7 separate regions of the Homo sapiens genome follow, and regions 1, 3, 4, 5, 6 and 7 are each linked to region 2. The links are contacts of gene promoters, found by promoter capture Hi-C in blood cells and fetal thymus (Javierre and others, 2016). All regions are on one chromosome and are shown on one strand. Each heading gives the region's core, a stretch centred on a gene start or on the middle of the fragment in contact. The rest is flanking DNA. Distances are from core to core; before and after follow the strand shown.

Evidence for each region. The method cuts DNA at HindIII sites, captures the fragments that hold promoters and counts their contacts. A CHiCAGO score of 5 or more calls a contact.
Region 1: a contact is called between a fragment that was not itself captured here and the fragment with the promoter of MESTIT1 in region 2, in 2 of 17 cell types (endothelial precursors and M1 macrophages). The highest score is 11.5, in endothelial precursors.
Region 3: a contact is called between a fragment that was not itself captured here and the fragment with the promoter of MESTIT1 in region 2, in 1 of 17 cell types (megakaryocytes). The highest score is 7.3, in megakaryocytes.
Region 4: a contact is called between a fragment that was not itself captured here and the fragment with the promoter of MESTIT1 in region 2, in 14 of 17 cell types (megakaryocytes, naive CD4 T cells, naive CD8 T cells and 11 more). The highest score is 25.8, in megakaryocytes.
Region 5: a contact is called between a fragment that was not itself captured here and the fragment with the promoter of MESTIT1 in region 2, in 2 of 17 cell types (megakaryocytes and M2 macrophages). The highest score is 9.6, in megakaryocytes.
Region 6: a fragment that was not itself captured here is called in contact with the fragment with the promoter of MESTIT1 in region 2 in 1 of 17 cell types (megakaryocytes); the score reaches 6.3 in megakaryocytes.
Region 7: a contact is called between a fragment that was not itself captured here and the fragment with the promoter of MESTIT1 in region 2, in 6 of 17 cell types (megakaryocytes, endothelial precursors, M2 macrophages and 3 more). The highest score is 12.6, in megakaryocytes.

Annotation. Positions count from the first base shown.
Region 1 is chr7:130,700,223-130,703,034 of GRCh38, forward strand. No RefSeq gene overlaps it. Among named protein-coding and RNA genes, the nearest start is that of TSGA13, 15 kb to the left of the region's middle. The HindIII fragment of the contact is 749 bases long and covers 901-1,649 here.
Region 2 is chr7:130,489,641-130,492,340 of GRCh38, forward strand. MESTIT1 (MEST intronic transcript 1, antisense RNA) reads right to left here and starts at 1,337. Exons shown (of 2, transcript NR_004382.2): 1 at 1,202-1,337; 2 at 1-327. MEST (mesoderm specific transcript) reads left to right here and starts at 2,445. Exons shown (of 12, transcript NM_002402.4): 1 at 2,445-2,699. The coding sequence starts at 2,674. RefSeq lists a silencer at 1,273-1,482. The HindIII fragment of the contact is 7,997 bases long and covers 1-1,912 here.
Region 3 is chr7:130,298,145-130,300,917 of GRCh38, forward strand. CPA4 (carboxypeptidase A4) reads left to right here. Exons shown (of 11, transcript NM_016352.4): 2 at 602-683; 3 at 1,126-1,260; 4 at 2,672-2,770. Among named protein-coding and RNA genes, the nearest start is that of CPA4, 6.4 kb to the left of the region's middle. The HindIII fragment of the contact is 7,030 bases long and covers 1-2,773 here.
Region 4 is chr7:130,239,993-130,242,914 of GRCh38, forward strand. No RefSeq gene overlaps it. Among named protein-coding and RNA genes, the nearest start is that of CPA2, 25 kb to the right of the region's middle. The HindIII fragment of the contact is 4,580 bases long and covers 1-2,922 here.
Region 5 is chr7:130,258,938-130,261,867 of GRCh38, forward strand. No RefSeq gene overlaps it. Among named protein-coding and RNA genes, the nearest start is that of CPA2, 6.5 kb to the right of the region's middle. The HindIII fragment of the contact is 1,051 bases long and covers 955-2,005 here.
Region 6 is chr7:130,326,843-130,329,714 of GRCh38, forward strand. The region is part of intron 1 of LOC105375503 (a long non-coding RNA gene); the gene reads right to left. Among named protein-coding and RNA genes, the nearest start is that of CPA5, 17 kb to the right of the region's middle. The HindIII fragment of the contact is 3,071 bases long and covers 3-2,872 here.
Region 7 is chr7:130,276,646-130,279,345 of GRCh38, forward strand. It overlaps CPA2 (carboxypeptidase A2), which reads left to right. Exons shown (of 11, transcript NM_001869.3): 7 at 1-93; 8 at 1,181-1,271. Among named protein-coding and RNA genes, the nearest start is that of CPA2, 11 kb to the left of the region's middle. RefSeq lists an enhancer at 1,424-1,718. The HindIII fragment of the contact is 8,075 bases long and covers 1-2,700 here.

The DNA.
Region 1 (2,812 bases), core at 25-2,524, 210 kb after region 2:
AAAATACAAAAATTAGCCGGGTGTGGTGGCTCGCACCTGTAGTCCCAGCTACTCGTAAGGCTGAGGCAGGAGAATTGCTTGAACCCGGGAGGCGGAGGTTGCAGTGAACCAACAGAGTGCCACTGTACTCCAGCCTGGGCGACAGAGTGAGACTTTGTCTCAAAAAGAAAGAAAGAAAGAAATGCCAAATTGCACTCCACAATGGCTGCCTCTTTTAAATATCTGCTTTGAAGGATTGCCCTTGGGCTACTGGAGCCACTTATCCCAGAGAATAGGAAGTGTCTGGGAGATTAGGTACCCCCAGTACATCTGTAGTCAATGGACCACTGCAGTATAAGGATGAAAGCCCAGCTCCTTTGCCTTAGACTCTTTCAGGCTGAGGCATAATTTCCTCTCCAGAACTCCCTTATAGGATCAGATTAAGGCTAGGACTCTGTCTGAAATACAGTACATCTTTCTTTAGTTTCTTCTATTTTTCTGTCCTTCATCCCCAACTTCCTTACCAGTTTATGCTGGGATGACTTTCTTAATAAGTTATTTGAAAATAAATCTATGTCTCAAGATTGGCTTTTGGCGAACATGAGCTAAGTCACATTGCCCCATCCACACTTAGTATCATTCAACTTTCTAATTCTTCCCTATTTCACTGTTGTTTCAATTTGCATTTCTTTGATTATTAATGAGTTTAAACATTTCTTCATATTTATCAACTTTTGGTTCCTTATTTAAATGCTGATTCATATCTTTTGCCTATTATTTTAATGAAGTTGCTGACATTTTCTTGTGAATTTGCAAGATTTTGTTATATATTCTAGATATCAACCCATAGTCAGCTTTAAATGGTATGAATAATTTTCTTTAATTCTATTAGCTGTCCATTAATTTTTTCCCTGGATAGAAAGCTTTTGTGTGTGTGTGTGTGCCTCCACCAAGATTTTTTAAATTAACTATTTTAAATTCAGTGACATTTAGTTCATTTGCAGCATTGTGCAACCACCGCATCTATCTAGTTTTGAAACATTTTCTTCACTCTAAAGTAAAACCTTTTGCACATTAAACAGTTTCTCCTCTTTCTCTCTAACCTGCCAGTACCTGGCAGCCACCAATCTGTGTTCTATCTTTATGAATTTATCTATTCTGGATATTTCATACAAATGGAATCATACAATATGTGATCTTTGGTGTCTGGCTTCTTTCACTTAGCTAATGTTTTAGAGGTTCATCCATGTTATAGCATGTATTAGGTACGGTACTTCATCCTTTTTTTTAATCACTGAAAAATATGCTTATGAATATACTGCAATTTGTTTATCCACTCTTCCACTGATAGACATTTGGGCTGTTTCCACCTTTTGACTATTATCAATAGTGCTGTTATGAACATGTGTGTACATGTGCTTATTTGAGTGCCTGTTTTTATTATTTGCAGCATATAGTGCTAGCATTTACCTAGGAGTGTAAATGCTAGATCATATGGCTAACCATTTTACATTCCCACTAGCAATGTATGAGGTTCCAATTTCTCCACATCCTTGCAAACATTTATTTTCTGGTGGTTTTTTGTTGTTGTTGTTGTTGTTGTTGTTTTTGTTTTTGTTTTTCACTTGTAGTCATCCCAGTGGGTGTGAAGTATTACCTCGGTGTTGGAAAGCTTTTTTGATGTAAATAGGTTAATTAATGTTTTGACTTATGGTTGTGTTTTCTTTTTTTTTTTTTTTAATTTATAAACTTTATTTAAACTTTATTTTTTTTTTCTTTTATCCGTAAACTTCTTTTTTTTTTTTTTTATTATACTCTAAGTTTTAGGGTACATGTGCACATTGTGCAGGTTAGTTACATATGTATACATGTGCCATGCTGGTGCGCTGCACCCACTAATGTGTCATCTAGCATTAGGTATATCTCCCAATGCTATCCCTCCCCCCTCCCCCGACCCCACCACAGTCCCCAGAGTGTGATATTCCCCTTCCTGTGTCCATGTGATCTCATTGTTCAATTCCCAGCTATGAGTGAGAATATGCGGTGTTTGGTTTTTTGTTCTTGCGATAGTTTACTGAGAATGATGGTTTCCAATTTCATCCATGTCCCTACAAAGGATATGAACTCATCATTTTTTATGGCTGCATAGTATTCCATGGTGTATATGTGCCACATTTTCTTAATCCAGTCTATCATTGTTGGACATTTGGGTTGGTTCCAAGTCTTTGCTATTGTGAATAGTGCCGCAATAAACATACGTGTGCATGTGTCTTTATAGCAGCATGATTTATACTCATTTGGGTATATACCCAGTAATGGGATGGCTGGGTCAAATGGTATTTCTAGTTCTAGATCCCTGAGGAATCGCCACACTGACTTCCACAATGGTTGAACTAGTTTACAGTCCCACCAACAGTGTAAAAGTGTTCCTATTTCTCCGCATCCTCTCCAGCACCTGTTGTTTCCTGACTTTTTAATGATTGCCATTCTAACTGGTGTGAGATGATATCTCATAGTGGTTTTGATTTGCATTTCTCTGATGGCCAGTGATGATGAGCATTTCTTCATGTGTTTTTTGGCTGCATAAATGTCTTCTTTTGAGAAGTGTCTGTTCATGTCCTTCGCCCACTTTTTGATGGGGTTGTTTGTTTTTTTCTTGTAAATTTGTTTGAGTTCATTGTAGATTCTGGATATTAGCCCTTTGTCAGATAAGTAGGTTGCGAAAATTTTCTCCCATGTTGTAGGTTGCCTGTTCACTCTGATGGTAGTTTCTTTTGCTGTGCAGAAGCTCTTTAGTTTAATTAGATCCCATTTGTCAATTTTGTCTTTTGTT
Region 2 (2,700 bases), core at 87-2,586:
GCTTTCTCTGCCTAAGATCTGGGTTCCATGCCCATCTCAACCTCAATCCCTCCTTCAAGGAAGTTTTTCCTAACTCCTCGGCCAGACATCAATAATGTCTGAAGGGAGGATTTCTCCCGAGTGCCAGACTTGGAATTCCTGTTGTCTTCAGGAGCTCTCCCTGGCGCTCCCTCCTTCCCCCAGGGCCTTTAAACTGTTTCTCCTCCAGTCTGCCCACTTGATCCATGTGGGTAGACATGTTCCATGGCCTTCAGAATAAGATCTTTTGTGGGGTACTCAGTCCATAAACAGAAAATTGCCTTCATCTTGGATGCTGGTGTTTCTGGCCTGGTGAGAATGAAAGTGTGGAATTTGTTTGTAGGACTCAAAGTTTCCATTAACAATAAATATGAAAAATATATAATGCAAAGGCTTTTGTTATTGTTATTATTAAAATAGGAAAGCCTTTACCTTTTTGGAAGAACCGATTTAGATTTTGCAGAGTAATTCAGTCTTTAAAAGGTAGTGGTAGTTAAAATAGGTAATCTTTGACTTGTAAAGAGACTAATTTAAATTTTGTTAAGTAACCAATTAAGGCCATAAAGAGTTTAAATCCATCTGTGGCTTCTCATTTTCTCTAGAACAAATTCCTAATTCCCTACGATGAAATTCTCTTGCTATCCTAATTTTTTGCCGGCTCAAAGGACTAACCGTTTTCCCCAAACACGCGGCCCTGAGCCTCCGGTGCTTTGCGAAAGCCGTCCCCTCCGGCTGGAATGTTCTTTGTCTCTCTGGTAAATGTCTATTCATCATTCAAGACCACCCTTCGCCCCTCCCCTTAATTACTTCCTCCCCTGTGCGCCCTCAAATTCTTGTACTCATTCAAGCAGTATTTATTAGGGGCCAGCTTTGTGGCCGGCACCGTGGCGGGCTCTGGGGCTACAAAAGGTGAATAATACTTGGGCTCTGCCTCTGAGGGCCTTACACGTTAGGGAGGAGTGGGTCAACTGCCACAAACGTCGCTAGGAAATTAAAAGGAAAATTTTACAAAGTGGCAGTTCTTGTCTGTCTTCCCCTCCAGATGGCCCGTGTGTTGTTTTCGGGCCGGGGCTATTTCTCATTTATTTCGCACCCCCGGTTCTTAGTGCCCTGTAGGTGCTAAATCAGCATTTGTTTCATGAGTGCTTTTTCTGGGGGCAACCAGACCCCTGCAGAAGTGTACCTGTGTTGTGCCAGAGGTTCTGATGATAGGCTTATAGGCGGTAGTTTCCTCAGTGTCCGTGGGTCGCCCCCGGTCCCGGGTTGGATGCCCCGCGGTCCAGCACCGAACCTTTCGGGGTGCAGAGTTGCAGAGCCGCGGAGGGCCCGGGCCGTGCGCAGCCGAAGGGAGGCCTGCAGCGCCCCCTCTGGATGCAGCGGGCACCGGCCGGCCGCCCCGCTCACCCGCTCGCACCCCACGTTTGTTCACCAGTATTTCAGTTTACGGTCAGAAAATGAACACAGACACTTCGTGATACTCTACACTTTTCAAAGGCGTAAGGGATGCCTTTTAAAGGATTATGGATTAGAAAAATTCCTCCCTCTTTCTTGTGCCTCTGGGCCCTTGCATTGTGATTCTATCTTACGTAAATAAAGGGGGCTTTGCTCTCCTAATTGTGCCCACTGTTCTGTGCAGCGCGGACCGGCGCATGCAGCGAGCGGGGCTGCGAGGGCGCTGCTGTGGCCAGGCGTCTGGCATGCTGACCACGTCGCGCTGCTGTAAAGGAAACCTGCCCCGCGCAGCGGCGGTGGCTGGAGCGGGAGAAACCGGACTTTGTGCAACTTTGGCCATAGTGGCCATCCCATGAATCTGTTTACTAGCTTGGTGGTGGGTCCAACAGAGCTTGTTGCTCCCTAGCCGCTTGCTCGTGCCCTTGGTGGTTACCGGTAGTTAAGCTTAGGGCGCATAGGGCCCTCGTGGCTCGCCACCTCTCACGGTTCAGTACCCACGCTTCGAACGAGGGATGGGAGCAGGCGCCACGGCCGGCACCCCAGAGCCCTGCTGCCCCTTAGTTCGAGCGGCCATCCTCCTGTGGGGCTTGTGGGCAGCCTGTGGGGTTTGTGGGCGGCCTGTGGGGTTTGTGGGTGGTCTAAGGAAAGAGTTGGGGCACTCAGGGGTCTGCTGTTTTTGCCCGTGGCCTTAACTCATCAGGGGAGGGTTTCTGCAGCAGAATCTCGGGCTCAGGGTTGGCGGTTAACGAGGGAGCAGCGGGGTCTTGGGGAGGGGGCTCGACACCCCTGAAGGTGCCCCCTAAAGGAGCCACTGTTAGAGGGGCACCCCATCTTTGTGGCCATGGCGGTGGTAGAGCGGCTGGGAGGGGCTCTGCGGCGAGCAAGGGAGCAGGCGGTAGGGGTTCTGCGGCGATGGGCGGGCTAGGGGCGGGGCGCGGGTGGGCTCTAAAAGTCGGTGCCCACTCGCTCCGCGCTGCCGCGGCAACCAGCACACCCCGGCACCTCCTCTGCGGCAGCTGCGCCTCGCAAGCGCAGTGCCGCAGCGCACGCCGGAGTGGCTGTAGCTGCCCGGCGCGGCGCCGCCCTGCGCGGGCTGTGGGCTGCGGGCTGCGCCCCCGCTGCTGGCCAGCTCTGCACGGCTGCGGGCTCTGCGGCGCCCGGTGCTCTGCAACGCTGCGGCGGGCGGCATGGGATAACGCGGCCATGGTGCGCCGAGATCGCCTCCGCAGG
Region 3 (2,773 bases), core at 198-2,697, 190 kb before region 2:
GAGCACCCAGCCTCGCCTGTTTTAAGACGGCACAGCTCACCCTCCCAGCATGGAGATGCTGTTTTCTTTCCAGCATGGAGGTTCCGTCAGGGTTTCAGTCCTCAGCCCTGACAGTGAAGAAGTGCTTCTTTATGTCTTGAGTTAGCTTTGCGTGTAACTCAGGCACATTCCTTCCTGTAAAATATATGTGTTTTTCATTATAAAGTAATATGATCACATTACAGAAAACAGATACAAGGGGGAAAAAAGTAAGTCATCCATAATCCCACGACCCGAACATAAGGGCTGTCAGCATTTGGTATATTTCCGCTGTCTGTTTTTCTTCCAATGCATCTGCTTTTTCCATACTTATAATCATGGCATACATACAATTTTGTGTCCTGCTCTTTCACTTAATATTTCCCTTAAAGTTATGCCATAAGCACTTTTTCATAGTTGCCATGTAGCCTCATTTTTAATGGCCATACATTAAAACCAAAGACTAGACCATTTCCTTTCTTTTGGCCTGGTTACGTCTGGGATAGGAGGCTTGGGGGTTTCTTTGCCAGCTGAAAGCTCATCATTATCTTTTGCTCTTTTTTCCTTTTCGCTTCTTCCCCAGGGACCAAGTTTTGAGGATTAATGTCAGAAATGGAGACGAGATCAGCAAATTGAGTCAACTAGTGAATTCAAACAACTTGAAGGTACCTGGTTCTTTTTAGCTCTCCTGAGTGTTTTCTAACTTTGCTGGGAGAAGACTCTTGCTCTACTGGCATTATTATTTTTATTTCTGAGGAGTCTCTGAATATAATCCTGTGGGAGTCCACTTGCCATTTATACAATTGAGGGGGCTGATGGGAGAGAGGGAGCACATCACAGCTGTGGTGTCCTGGGAGAGGGGATGCTTGAACAGTATAGGCTCCATCCTTCTAGCTGCCATCCACTTATGACTCTTGGTCTCTGCCAGATACTGCTTGTTGGGCAGGTCCAACCAGACACAATTGTGAAATGGGCAAACTTTGCCCTTGGGCAGAGCCTAGCCTCTCAGGGATCACCCTGGCTTTTGGCAGTGTTCTAGAAGAATAACCTCATTGTGCATTTTACCTGAACGGTCCTTTAACCTGGTTTCATTTCTGTTCCCTTCAGCTCAATTTCTGGAAATCTCCCTCCTCCTTCAATCGGCCTGTGGATGTCCTGGTCCCATCTGTCAGTCTGCAGGCATTTAAATCCTTCCTGAGATCCCAGGGCTTAGAGTACGCAGTGACAATTGAGGACCTGCAGGTAGGTAGACTATGCCTCCTGCCTCCTGCTCTTGCATAGGACCAGGCAGCCAGTCCAGAGTAGACCGGAGTGATTTGCAAGTTCTGGTTTTATCCTTTTCTATTTTATAGACCAGGAAATGGAGGCAAATGGAAGTAAAGTGCAGTGACTTGTTAGAGGAACAACATTTTGTAGTAGAAAGGGCATAAATAGGCCAGGGAACCACACAGATTTGGATCCAAATCCTGATTTTGCTAACTACTAGTGCTATGTGCTGTGTCTTTGGACAAGTTATTAACCCGCTGAGCCTCCGTTTCTTCATCAGTAAAATGGTGATAGTGAGACCTTCGTCATGTGATTTGTTGAGAAGACTCAGGATTAAATGTATGTAAAATGTCTAACAGTGCCTGGCATATCCTACGTCTGCCATTAAGTCATAAGTCCCTCTTTCTTTCCTTCTTTGAAGTCCTTCCAGGTGGCAAGAGCAGAGATGAGGGAGGGTGTTGGGGACCAGCCACAGAGGCACCCTTTGAGACAGGGGGAATGTCATGGATAGCCCCAGCAGAGGGAATGCCGTCCTCTGGCCTCACGACCTGTATCTGAACATCAGGACAGGGTCTGGCTCATGCTCTCTCCTTCACCGAGGTGGGTTATGGACTAATTGGTGATCTGGCCTGGGAGTTTCCTGATGGCGTTAGCAGCTATGAGCTTATTAATCATCCTCACATGTCACAGACATCTGCCAGGAACCTTCAAAGCACGAGTGGTTATAAGAATTTCTTTGTTTCTGAATGGTTTCCCAAGCTGTGTATTTCAGAGGCACTGGATACCAGATGCGGGCTGATGTCTACAGAGTTCATACTATAGGATAGCCAAAGAGCGCATATGTTGCTTCCAGGGAGTAAGTGGGTTTTGAATGAGGCCATGTAAATTGGGCCCCAAGAAGTAAATTTTTTTTTTTTTTTTTTTTTGAGATGGAGTCTCTCTCTTTCGCCAGGCTAGAGTATAATGGTGCAATCTCGGCTCACTGCAACCTCTGACTCCCTGGTTCAAGCGATTCTCCTGCCTCAGCCTCCCAAGTAGCTGGGACTACAGGCACGCACCACCACGCCCAGCAAATTTTTGTATTTTTAGTAGAGACAGGGTCTCACCATGTTGGCCAGGATGGTCTCGATCTCCTGACCTCGTGATCCGCCCGCCTCAGCCTCCCAAAGTGCTGGGATTACAGACATGAGCCACCCTGCCCAGCCAAGAAATAAAATTTTATAAAGATATGAAAGAAATCTAACCCCCTTTTAAACCTTGACATTTGTGCTGCTTGATATGCTGAAAGGGCCGCCATCTTGGCTGACCCATATGCAAAGATATGGCAGAAAAAACATAAACCTGCGTCTGCAATGGATCACTTCACAACATTGCTGTGTGTTTTCAGGCCCTTTTAGACAATGAAGATGATGAAATGCAACACAATGAAGGGCAAGAACGGAGCAGTAATAACTTCAACTACGGGGCTTACCATTCCCTGGAAGCTGTA
Region 4 (2,922 bases), core at 46-2,545, 250 kb before region 2:
CTCACTGCAACCTCCACCTCCTGTGTTCAAGAAATTCTGTCTCAGTCTCTTGAGTAGCTGGGACTACAGGCGCACGCCACCACGCCAGGCTAATTTTTGTATTTTTAGTAGAGACAGGGTTTCACCATATTGGTTAGGCTGGTCTCGAACTCCTGACCTCAGGTGATCCACTAACCTAGGCCTCCCAAAGTGCTGGGATTGCAGGTGTGAGCCACCGTGCCCAGCCCCAACTGCTATCATCAGAGGTACAGATTGAGACAGGAGAGGGGGACAATAATCATTTTTTGGGGGGTTATATTTTTCAGTGATGTTTGAATGGTTTTACTATGAAAATATTATTTTAGAAGCAGAAAAAAATAAAAGCACACAAAGGTACTGTCAAGGAACAATATTTCACCAAATAGAGCTTTAAAAATCTGATCGGCTTTTATTAGTGATTTATGAATTGGGCAGCATCTCATCTATGAAACAGAAAGGTGCTTTGGTGAGAGCCAAGCAGAGAGGGTTGGTTATGTAGGCAGAAAAAGGCTGAAAAGAGCAAAAACAAGGAGGAAAAAGTGCATTGATCATTTCAAAGTTACTTTCCTTATAGGGTTAAAGCAGAGGGGATTTTCATATCATGCCAACTCAGGTTGACTGGCCCCTTTGGATTAAATGCTGTGAATCTCTTGTTCTTTGGAAAACCAGCTGGTTTCTAAATTTAGTTTGATTATGTGGCACCTAGCATGAGTGACGCCATTCTGGTTTGGTCTGGTCTGTTGGGGCCTAGGGCAGGAGCTCAGTCCAAAACAAGGACCTCCCACAAATTTTATTTAACAGCATATACATGAATATTCTTTTTAAGATACTTTGAAATAGTGAAAAATTGAGTGCAGTAAATAAGGGATTGGTTAAATACAGTATACTCACATAGTGGAATACAATTGAGCTCTCCCCAAAATACAGTGTAATCCCACACAGAGAAAAATAACCAACATGGTAAAACCCCATCTTTACTAAAAATACAAAAATTAGCTGGGTGTGATGGTGGGCGCCTGTAATCCCAGCTACTCAGGAGGCTGAGTCAGGAGAATCACTTGAACCAGGGAGGTGGAGGTTGCAGTGAGCTGAGATCGTGCCACTGCCCTCCAGCCTGGCGACAGAGCAAGACTCTGTCTCAAAAAAAAAAAAAAAAAAGAAAGAAAAAAAAAGTAACCAATAACAACAATATGCCTTTATATAGATCAAACTGTTAATTATCTCTAGGAATATTTTAACTTTCTTAGTAATGTCTATAATATTGTAATTGTCAATATGCCACGTGAATTACTTTTACAGTTGAGATAAAAGGTTATTATTTAATGCTGGTTGAAACTGGGAATTTTATGATTTTTGTCTAGCTCTTGAGAAGCAACTACCTCACCCTGTTATATCAGGTAAGTCTATTGTTTATTTTTATTTATTTATTTTTTTGAGATGGAGTCTCGCTCTGTAGCCCAGGCTGGAGTGTGGTGGCTTGATCTTGGCTCACCGCAACCTCCGCCTTCTGGGTTCAAGTGATTCTCTTGCCTCAGCCTCCCGAGTAGCTGGGATTACAGGCATGCGCCACTGCACCCGGCTGATTTTTGTATTTTTAGTAGGGATGGGGTTTCGCCATGTTGGCCATGCTGGTCTTAAACTCCTGACCTAAGGTGATCCACTGGCCTCGGCCTCCCAAAGTGCTGGGATTACAGGTGTGAGCCACTGCGCCCGGCCCTATTGTTTAATTTTTATGCATTAGGCTTTCCTATGCATTTCCAGGAACCTATTATGATACAAGTAGACTGTGCAGATATCATTTTTTTCCCTCTAGACCAATGCTCTCCAATAGAAATTTATTGCAAGCTACATATGTAACTTTAAATTTTCTAGTAACTACATTTTAAAAAGAGCAGGTGCAATTAATTTTAATACTATATTTTATTAACCCAATATATCCAAAATATTATCATGTGAACATGTAATGGATATAAAAATTATTAATGAGATATTTTACATTCTAATTTCCACACTAAGTCTTTTAAATCTGGTGTGTGTTCTACTTACAGCATATTTCAATTTGAGTGCTAAATTTTCAACAGTTAAAATGTTGTCCTACCAAAACAATAAGGTATGTATGCATTTAAAGGAAAAATATTTCACTCTGCTTCAGTTTTTAAATGTAAGTTAAAATTAATTTAAAACGTCACTAGTGTGACCAGTCACACTTGCACATTTCAGGTACTCCATAGCCACAAGTGGCTGGTGGCTACAGCATTGGGGAGTGTAGATATAGAACATTCCACTGTACAGCTGTGGTCTAGACATTGAGCTCCAGGCAGATACAATCTCTTACTCATCTTCAGGGCTCTATGACTTAACAGTGCCTGTTACACAGTAGGAACGCCATAAATGAAGAACTCATTCATAGATCTGGGACTGAGATCATCATGAGCAGCACACTGATTAAGGGTGAAAAGACACACCTTCACAACATGGCCATGGATGGCCCTATTTACCTCCTCCTGAGCAGGACAAATAGTTAATATACGTGGAGGGATTTTGGTGTTGCAGACAGCAAATTATTTGTGGAATCTATTTGTTCTTCCCAACTGACTTAATATAAAAAAGAATTTGTATGATGGAATTTTAGACTCAAGATTGTCTTTGGTACAAGGCGGGAACCCGGTGTACCTTGGGACCAGGGGACTGACACAGTGGTTGTCTGCTGGGGGCAGGAGGGGGCAGCAGAGAGCCACCAGGGTGGTTGGCTCCGGGGAACCCAAAAGATGATGGATGAGTGGGAAAATGGACTGTTAGGGTGAACCCAAATCACAAACTCATAGATCAAAAGGAAAGCCAGGCTAGAAAGCCAAGCCAGGATGGAATCAATGTATAAGAAAATATGCTGTGAATCTGTGGTTT
Region 5 (2,930 bases), core at 230-2,729, 230 kb before region 2:
GTGGGATTTTAAAAATTCTAATGTCTGAGTATATGCTATCAATCACAATTAAGGTTGTTATGTATTGTAAATCACGGGGATAACCAAATTTCTTTGTCAATCATGTTTCTGACTGTAACTACCCTGGACATTTTGTTATTCACAGACGATTTTGTCTTGTTTTGATCCTCTTCAAAAGATGATTATAATCAGCTATAGAATTTTGACAGGTGCTCTCAAATGGAGGTTTCTGATAACTTTGGACATTATGACATTGGAATAAAGGAAAAACATACAGGACTCATGAAGAGCCGAAATGTTCACGAATATCAAGCAAAAAAAGAATTAACCAAATTGACTAAACTAATAGAGAATTAAAATAATCTTTTTGACTTTTGCTTGGAAAATTGCTGATCCTTGTTTTCTCAGAGTCAAGGAAACTTATTTTGAACTATTTATGGCCTTTAATAATTCAGTAAGCTATCCTCCTGTGAACAAAATTTGGAGCATGTTTGTCTCCCTTTCTCTGCCTGGCTTCTCTGGAATTTGGTTTTGTTTTTTTCTGTTGGAGATGGAGTTTTGCTGTTGTTGCCCAGGCTGGAGTGCAATGGCATGATCTCAGCTCACTGCAACCTCCACCTCCTGGGTTCAAGTGATTCTCTTGCCTCAGCCTCCCAAGTAGCTGGGATTGCAGGCACCTGCCACCATGCCCAGCTAATTTTTGTATTTTTAGTAGAGATGGGATTTCACCATGTTGGCTAGGCTGGTCTTGAACTCCTGACCTTAGGTGATCCACCCACCTTGGCCTCCCAAAATGCTGGGATTACAGGCATGAGCCACTGTGCCAGGCCTAGGATTTGGAAACTAGTTGTGAGTATTTTTAACTTATGGCAATATAGTTGTTTGCCTCAGTGCAATAGGAATCCATTTTCTTTTGCAACAGGATGCGATTGGAGAAACTGGTTGTTTTACCAAAGCTTTGATTGGATGAGTATGCTTCCCTTTAAGGAATCACGCTCAACTTGCAGAGCTGATAAAAGCCCCTTGGGAAAACTGGCCTCATACCTTGTCTACACATTCCCTGTACAGGGTTCCTAACCTGTGGTGAGTAAAGAATGTCGCATTCCAACAGGCCCAGGAACCACATGTTCTTGGGACCTCAAGAAGGGAGGAGTTTACCCAACTCACAGGTATTTGAAGGTACAAACCCATGGCTGGGCTCAGCTTTAGAAAGTCCTTTCTGAGATTCCTTGTGGAACAGAGTTCCAACAAAACCAGTCTAAAAGGGTTATACAAAAATAATTATTCTTGTTGCATTTTATGCAAATAATCAGGCCAAGTATCAGACTAAAGTCTATTTTGCAAACAACTCAGTCCTATCTTGATATGTTTTTAACAAGATGAGGACTGAAGAGAGAGAAATTATGTTTTAAAATTTATCATATATTTGTCATTAAATTCTAGACTCATTAGTTGTTTTTAAGTTCTTGCCTACATTTTATACTAACCTTGCTTTTTCTTGTGAACTAACCAGAAATCCCTGGCTGCAGCTCAGAAAGGACAAAAGGGATGGATGATGTAAAAATCTGGATCAATACTCTAGTTCTGAGCAATTATTCTGTGAATCCTGCCAGGTGATGGGAATAAATAGAATGCCCATCAACCAGAGATTTCCTTTTTGGGAAAGTAAGACCAAGGGAGTTAACTAAAGCCAAGCCCCACATACCTAAATCTCAGCAAGCATAACTATAGCCACCAATTATCTGGGCATGTCACAGGACATCCTTTTCTCTCCCTTGTTCGAGGAGGGCTTGATTCCATAGTTTCACCTTAGCATTCAACTTATGATAAGGAGTCCATGCAACACTGCCTCCCCCTTCCAGAGACACATTTTTGTCCCAAACTCAACTCCGAGCTTTGGATTGAAGCCCTAGGAAATAAAACTGGGTCTGAGGGATCCAGAGGCAGATGATAATGGAAGTTAAAAGGCACAGCAGAGTGTGACTGATTCCTGCTGATTAATCCAAGCTTCCTGTTTGATGGATAAAGGTTATGTTAGTATCCATGGCATAAATGAGGTCTAGAAAACTTGAAGACTACTGACAGCAGATGAGATAGGGCATATGTTGGTAAGAGCGGATATTGCCACCCCCTAGGCCCCCCGTTAACATGAGTGAAAGCCACTTTGACACCCATGGGTGGCACTCTGTCACAGTTGCCAGGAGGAACACCTCACTTTCTCTCTCCCTTATGTACCCTGGATATTTTCTAGGAAGAGAAGGGAACCTGGGATGCCTCGCTCCCCTCTTTCTAGATGAGTAGCCATTCATCTTCAGTCTGCACCACTTTCAAATGCATCCTGAACCCCTGGGGCTCCTTTGAAAAAAAAGAAAGCCTTCTTTTTTCCTTTTTCCTTCTCTGTGCTGTCTTCACTGATAGGTAATTGTGTCTCTGTACTACGATATACTCTCCTTGGATACATCTTCCAAACTGGAAAAAGTTATTTGCCAAACCTTAAACTCATTGGCTTAGGACTGGGCTTGGGGGATGAGAACCCAGAAGCCTGACATGCTGGCAAAAGGGTAAAACCTTTTTATTATCAGTCTGGCTTTTGGCCTGCCTCTCCTTGTGCAAACTGGTAAAAGGCCTTTTGGTTTTTGCACTGTTCTTACCCTCCTTTATTTCATTTTGATACATGTTTTCTAATAACCCAGGTTGTCTCTTCTCACCTTCAGGCCCTCAAGCTCCAAAGGATCGTGCAACTTGGGACTTGGACGATTTCCCCTTTTCCTGGGGACCCTTAGATAGGCCTCTGAGGGAGATCTGACTGCCGTTTTCCTAAAACAGCACCCCCTGTCAGCATGAAGCAGTTAAGATTGGTCTTCATCCTTATCCTTATCTTTGTTTGTTTGTTTTGTTTGGTTTTTTTGAGATGGAGTCTCCCTCTGCCG
Region 6 (2,872 bases), core at 288-2,787, 160 kb before region 2:
AAAGCTTAGCTTTTGTCTTAGATTCTGCTTTTTCAGGTGTTTATTACGTGATTTTTTTTTTTAAAGTAGAGACAAGGGTCTCCCTATGTAGCTTAGGTCAGTCTTGAACCCTTGGCCTCAAGTAATTCTCCTGCCTTGGCCTCCCAAAGTGCTGGGATTACAGGTGTGAGCCACTGCACTCAGCCTATTATATGATTTTTTTAAAAACCTAATTAAGTAGCTAAATAAATAATTAAAAGAGGACCATGCGGCTGGGCATGGTGGCTCACGCCTGTAATCCCAGCACTTTGGTAGGCCGAGGCAGGCAGATCACGAGGTCAGGAGATCGAGACCATCCTGGCTAACACGGTGAAACCCCGTCTCTACTAAAAAAAAATAGAAAAAAAATTAGCCAGGTGTGGTGGCGGGCACCTGTAGTCCCAGCTACTAGGGAGGCTGAGGCAGGAGAATGGCGTGAACCCAGGAGGTGGAGCTTCCAGTAAGCGGAGATCATGCCACTGCACTCCAGACTGGGTGACTCGGCGAGACTCTGTCTCAAAAAAAAAAAAAAAAAAAAAAAAAGAGGACCATGCATAGATCAATGATGAGTGTGCCACTAACCATGGATTGTAATTAATCTATTTCTATGGACTTGAAAACCAATTTTAAAAATGTTTACAAAGATACTAATTTTAAACAAAAATTGTACTATTCAACATGCATTTATTGAGTACCTACTATGTGCTAGAGACAGTTTTTTTTTTCTTTTTTTAGAGGCAGGATCTGGCTCTGTCACCAAGGCTGGAGTTCAGTGGGGCAATCATAGCTCACTGTAGCCTCAAACTCCTGGGCTCAAGCGATCCTCCTACCTCAGCCTCCCAAAATGCTGGGATTACAGGCACGAGCCACCACACCTGGCTCTTGAGACAGTTTTATTATTTTATTATTGCAAGGAAGAAGACAAATCTTTTATTGCATGAAATTTCATTGTAGTTGGAAAGACCGGAAGTACTCAAGTAAACAACTAAATTAAGAAGTTAATTTGGGTGAGGAGAGCTGCGATAAATAAAAGAAAACAGACTGCTGTCAGGAGAGTGATGGGTGGTAGGGGAGCCCGTCTAGATTTGGAAAGCTAGGGAAGATAGTATTATAAACTATTCTTAACTTTATTCTCTGTATTCTTTGTTTACTTCCTCAAAACATGTAAAAAAGGTGGGCTAGACTTTTTATTTTGAGACAGGATCTCCCCTCTGTCACTCATACTGGAACGCAGTGGCACAACCACAGCTCACTGCAGCCTTGACCTTCTAGGCTCAAGCAATTCTCCTACCTCAGCCTCTGGAGTAGCTAGGCTAATTAAAAAAAAATCTTTTGTAGAGATGGGGTCTTTCCATGTTGCCCAGACTGGTCTCAAACTCCTGGGCTCAAGTGATCCTCCTGCCTTGGCCTCCCAAAGTGCTGGGATTACAGGCATGAGCCACCGTGCCTGGCAGCGACTTAAATTTCTGAAGCACATTTAAGTTTGAAAGGCTTTCATACCTCATCAAATTAGTCTGTAGGGAATTTTCCACCAGTAAGACATCAAGGAGGGTGGAAAAAGTATAGTCTATCAATAATGGGGAAAAATGTCTTGAGTTCTCTTTTTTGCAGTAATGGAGAGGATGGGTTTCTCCGAGCCACCTCCAGGTGTTGCACCCAATTCTCTTGGGGCCCAAAAGAAGATCTTTGTGAAGTAGCTGACAGAATGAGGGGTATATTTGGGATTAGCTGTTGTCCAGTTGACACCAGAGCCCTTCATTGGACTGTAACCCCCTGAAGGCAGGGAGCAGACCATAGCCACTTCTGTATTCTGGGTCACTGGTGGTGGAAAGCCGTGGAATGGACCAACTTTTTCACCGACACATATGACTTTGGCCCATGAGATAACCTCTTGGCTCCTCAGTTTCTCACCTTTAAAAGAATAACGATAGTATCTGCAATGACTTATCAAGAGAATTAACTAAGAGAATATTAAAGCATTCAGTTATTTACCTGGCAGTAGAAGCTCTTGATATGTGTTAGAATTATTTTCAGCTGGCACACATTTACCTATGCAACAAACCTGAACATTCTGCACATGTATCCTGGAACTTAAAGTGAAATTAAAAAAATAAAAATAAACAAATAAAAGAATTATTCTCAGCTGGGCCTGGTGGTTCACACACCTGTAAGCCCAGCATTTGGGGAGGCCAAGGTGGGCAGTCTGCTTGAGCCCAGGAGTTTGAGACCAGCCTGAGCAAAAGGGCAAGACCCCGTTTCTACAAAAAAATACAAACATTAGCCAGGTGTGGTGGCATGTGCCTACAGTCCTAGCTACTTAAGAGGCTGAGATGGGAAGATGGCTTGAGCCCAGGAGGTTGAGGCTGCAATGAGCCACGATCACACCACTGCACTCCAGCCTGGGTGACAGAGTGAGACCCTGTCTCAAAAACAAACAAGCAAGCAAACAAAAAAGAATTATTCTCACTGAGTGGTGGAAATTCATTTATAAATCAGGTCTTCAGCATTTTCCCTAAAGTGATAGACTTATTTGCTTCAGATTGTTCATGAAATGTAATAACAAAGATCTCAACAGATCACAGAAAAACACTAGCTGGATGTTAAGTAATTTTTATTATTATTTGGGTTTGGAAATATTGGGGTTCTTTCTCTGGGAGCTTTCCCAGGTTCTATAGGTATCGAGTTTCCTTTACGAAATTAAGACAAAGGATCACTGCCTGAAACCTTCATAGGTCCAGCTTCCAAACACAACCACATCAAACATAGGGGGTCACTGGGTTTTACAGGTCTTGGAAAGGCCCTGTTGTAAATCAATTTTGGGTAATGTTGACGGCCTGTTCCAACTCTGGAATGT
Region 7 (2,700 bases), core at 8-2,507, 210 kb before region 2:
AAGGACCCATCCATCACTTCCATTCTGGATGCCCTGGATATCTTCCTCCTGCCAGTCACAAACCCTGATGGATACGTGTTCTCTCAAACCAAAGTAAGCCTGGATTTTGTTCCCTTCTTCAACAAGGACCTAAGGAGATGTGTAGGAACTTCAAAAGCAAAATAAAAATACTCATTCTTTTCTTGATTTACTCTAAATGGAATGTCTAATTTCTCAGTAGTCACCCGGAAATGAGGGTTAGAGAAGTGGTTATAATCACTTCTTATTCCAACACATGATGTCTTTATATGTTGCCTCAGCCAGAGCCCATTTCAGCTGTTAGGCTGGGCTATTAGAGCTCAGTGTTCACCATGAGTCATCTAGGAGATTTGTTCCAATTATCTCTGCAATTTTTTGTGGTAGGATTGATAGAAAAGAGGAGGCGGATGTTACCTGCTGACAATTAGATTGCAGTAGGATTTAGGTGGGCAGTACAGTACATCTAGCATTTTACTTAAAATCTGTGGGAGAAATCCTCCATAATATCACTTAAAAGAGTTACATGGTTTTTTTTTTCCCTTAAAATCTCATTACAATACACTATTGTAGCAACCATGACCCCACATATATTCAAGATGAATGACAGCTTCAAGTTTATTTTTAGAAAGAGCTAACTACGGTAGCGTTTTCAAAGACATTTTCAAAGAAACTGATACTAATACTAGTACTCATCCCATGAGATACCATATGAATCAAGGGTTCCATTGTCAAGACCAGGAAACACCGCCCACCGTATCCGTTTCTTAGAGGTTTATAAAAAACAAGGCATTAACAATCCTTAGAAGTTCTGAAGTAAGTTTACCAAGTTAGCTCCATATTTTCCCCAAATAGGCTCATTGCAGAACCCTCTCTTCTGCTTTTGGTTCTTGCTGTTGGCCTTGGACAGAACTAGGGTTCCATGGCACGTGTTTGGCAGGCGTTCATTTGAGGAGATGGGGGCGTATTCATGTCTCACTTTGGTGAGATGGCAGAGAAACTCCTAGCAGAACCTGTATGAGGACTGTCCAACACCTCCCCAAGCCAAGGGAAAGGAGTGTCCCAGAGAACTAGGGAAATTGACAGAATTCTAAAGGAACCTTCTGATCAGGCTGAATGACCCTCTTTCTTTTTTTCCATGTGCTTTTTGGGTGGGATCTGAAAGAATCGTATGTGGCGGAAGACCCGGTCCAAGGTATCTGGAAGCCTCTGTGTTGGTGTGGATCCTAACCGGAACTGGGATGCAGGTTTTGGAGGTGAGCGCAGGGACTTGCCCCCAGGGATGGTCAGCCCGTGGTCTGGCCCACAAGCTGGTTCAAATGGCCCTGCAGTGCATCAGCTGGCTAAGCCCATCCAGGATTTAAGCCATTTAAAAACCTCTTTGAAAAACACTTAACTAAATTCCCTTCACAGGAGCACAGTGCTGTCACAGAGCTCTGAGCAGCATTTAATATATTTTGTCTCACATCTTGGTTTTCCCACAAGCTGTCGCCCGGTTAGCCTTCTGTGCAGCGGGAGCAAGACTTTGCACAGTGGCGGGAGGACTCGGGAAGCCCTGAGCCAGCCACTAGAGGGGGATAGGATCTATTCCAAGGAGAAGCATTACATCATCTATGGATGCTTCGAGAAAGAAAACTAAAAAGAAGTACATACACACAGGATGGAGAAACTGACTTTCAAAACAGATTCAAATATAAAATGTGAGCTTGCTGCCCTGGCTTTGTGACAGCGCTTATGTTTTGGAGTTCCGTGTCAGGCTAGTTAGGGGCTCCTTTATGGCCTCAGGTACTGGTGAAAACCCCTTATGTTTCAGTAACCATAGAATTAAATTTTTTCCCCCTCACTAGGCTATGATAAAATTGAGGTCAGGAGCTGTGTCTTTTTCACTGTAGTATTCCTAACACCTAGCACAGTGTCTGCAACGCAGAAGGTAATCACTATGTATTTGTAAGACAAATTAATTAATTAGAGTTATGGAACTAAGACAGGACTGTAGAGAACTGCTACAGGATATGGATGAGTGGCAACTTCATTCATTGCTTTGACAATTCTTCTTCTTTTTTTTTTAGTGTAGTGGAAAAATAATTAAAGCACAATACTGAGCAATGGCCCACAGTTCAATGTCAATCCCCCCGATATTATTTTCATTAAATAATTTTAAAATAAGGTGACGTTTTGTCTGTATCACATGGGGAGCCTAGGGAATCCTGACCCCTACTCATCCCCTGGAAGTTTCTCTAGCAGTGAGAGCCCTGGCCAGGCCTACAATGGACCCATTTCAGTGGTCTTGAGCCACTCTAGTTGCTGAGAAAATCAAGGCCAAAGGTGGCCTTGTTGTCAAATGTAGTCATGATTTCCTCATTGCAGAAAGGGTGTCAGAGGTTCCTTGCATTTCTGGCTTTGTGCCTTGGAATTACAGATGCATAGAATCTTCTACTGTTGGACTCTAAGAATTGGATGAGATCCCAGAAAATGAACTTGCTAAACTCCCACCCAATGCAGGAATTCCATCCATAATATTAAATCTAGCTTTTCTTCCAATAACTCCTACAGAGAGGAGATGATCTAATTAGATGGCTCTTTCTACTGTATAGAGGAACCATATTTTTTGAAGAAGAGATGTGTCCAGAATCACTTCAGTTAGGCTTTCTGACTATAACCTTTGGAAGAGACTTGATCTAACAC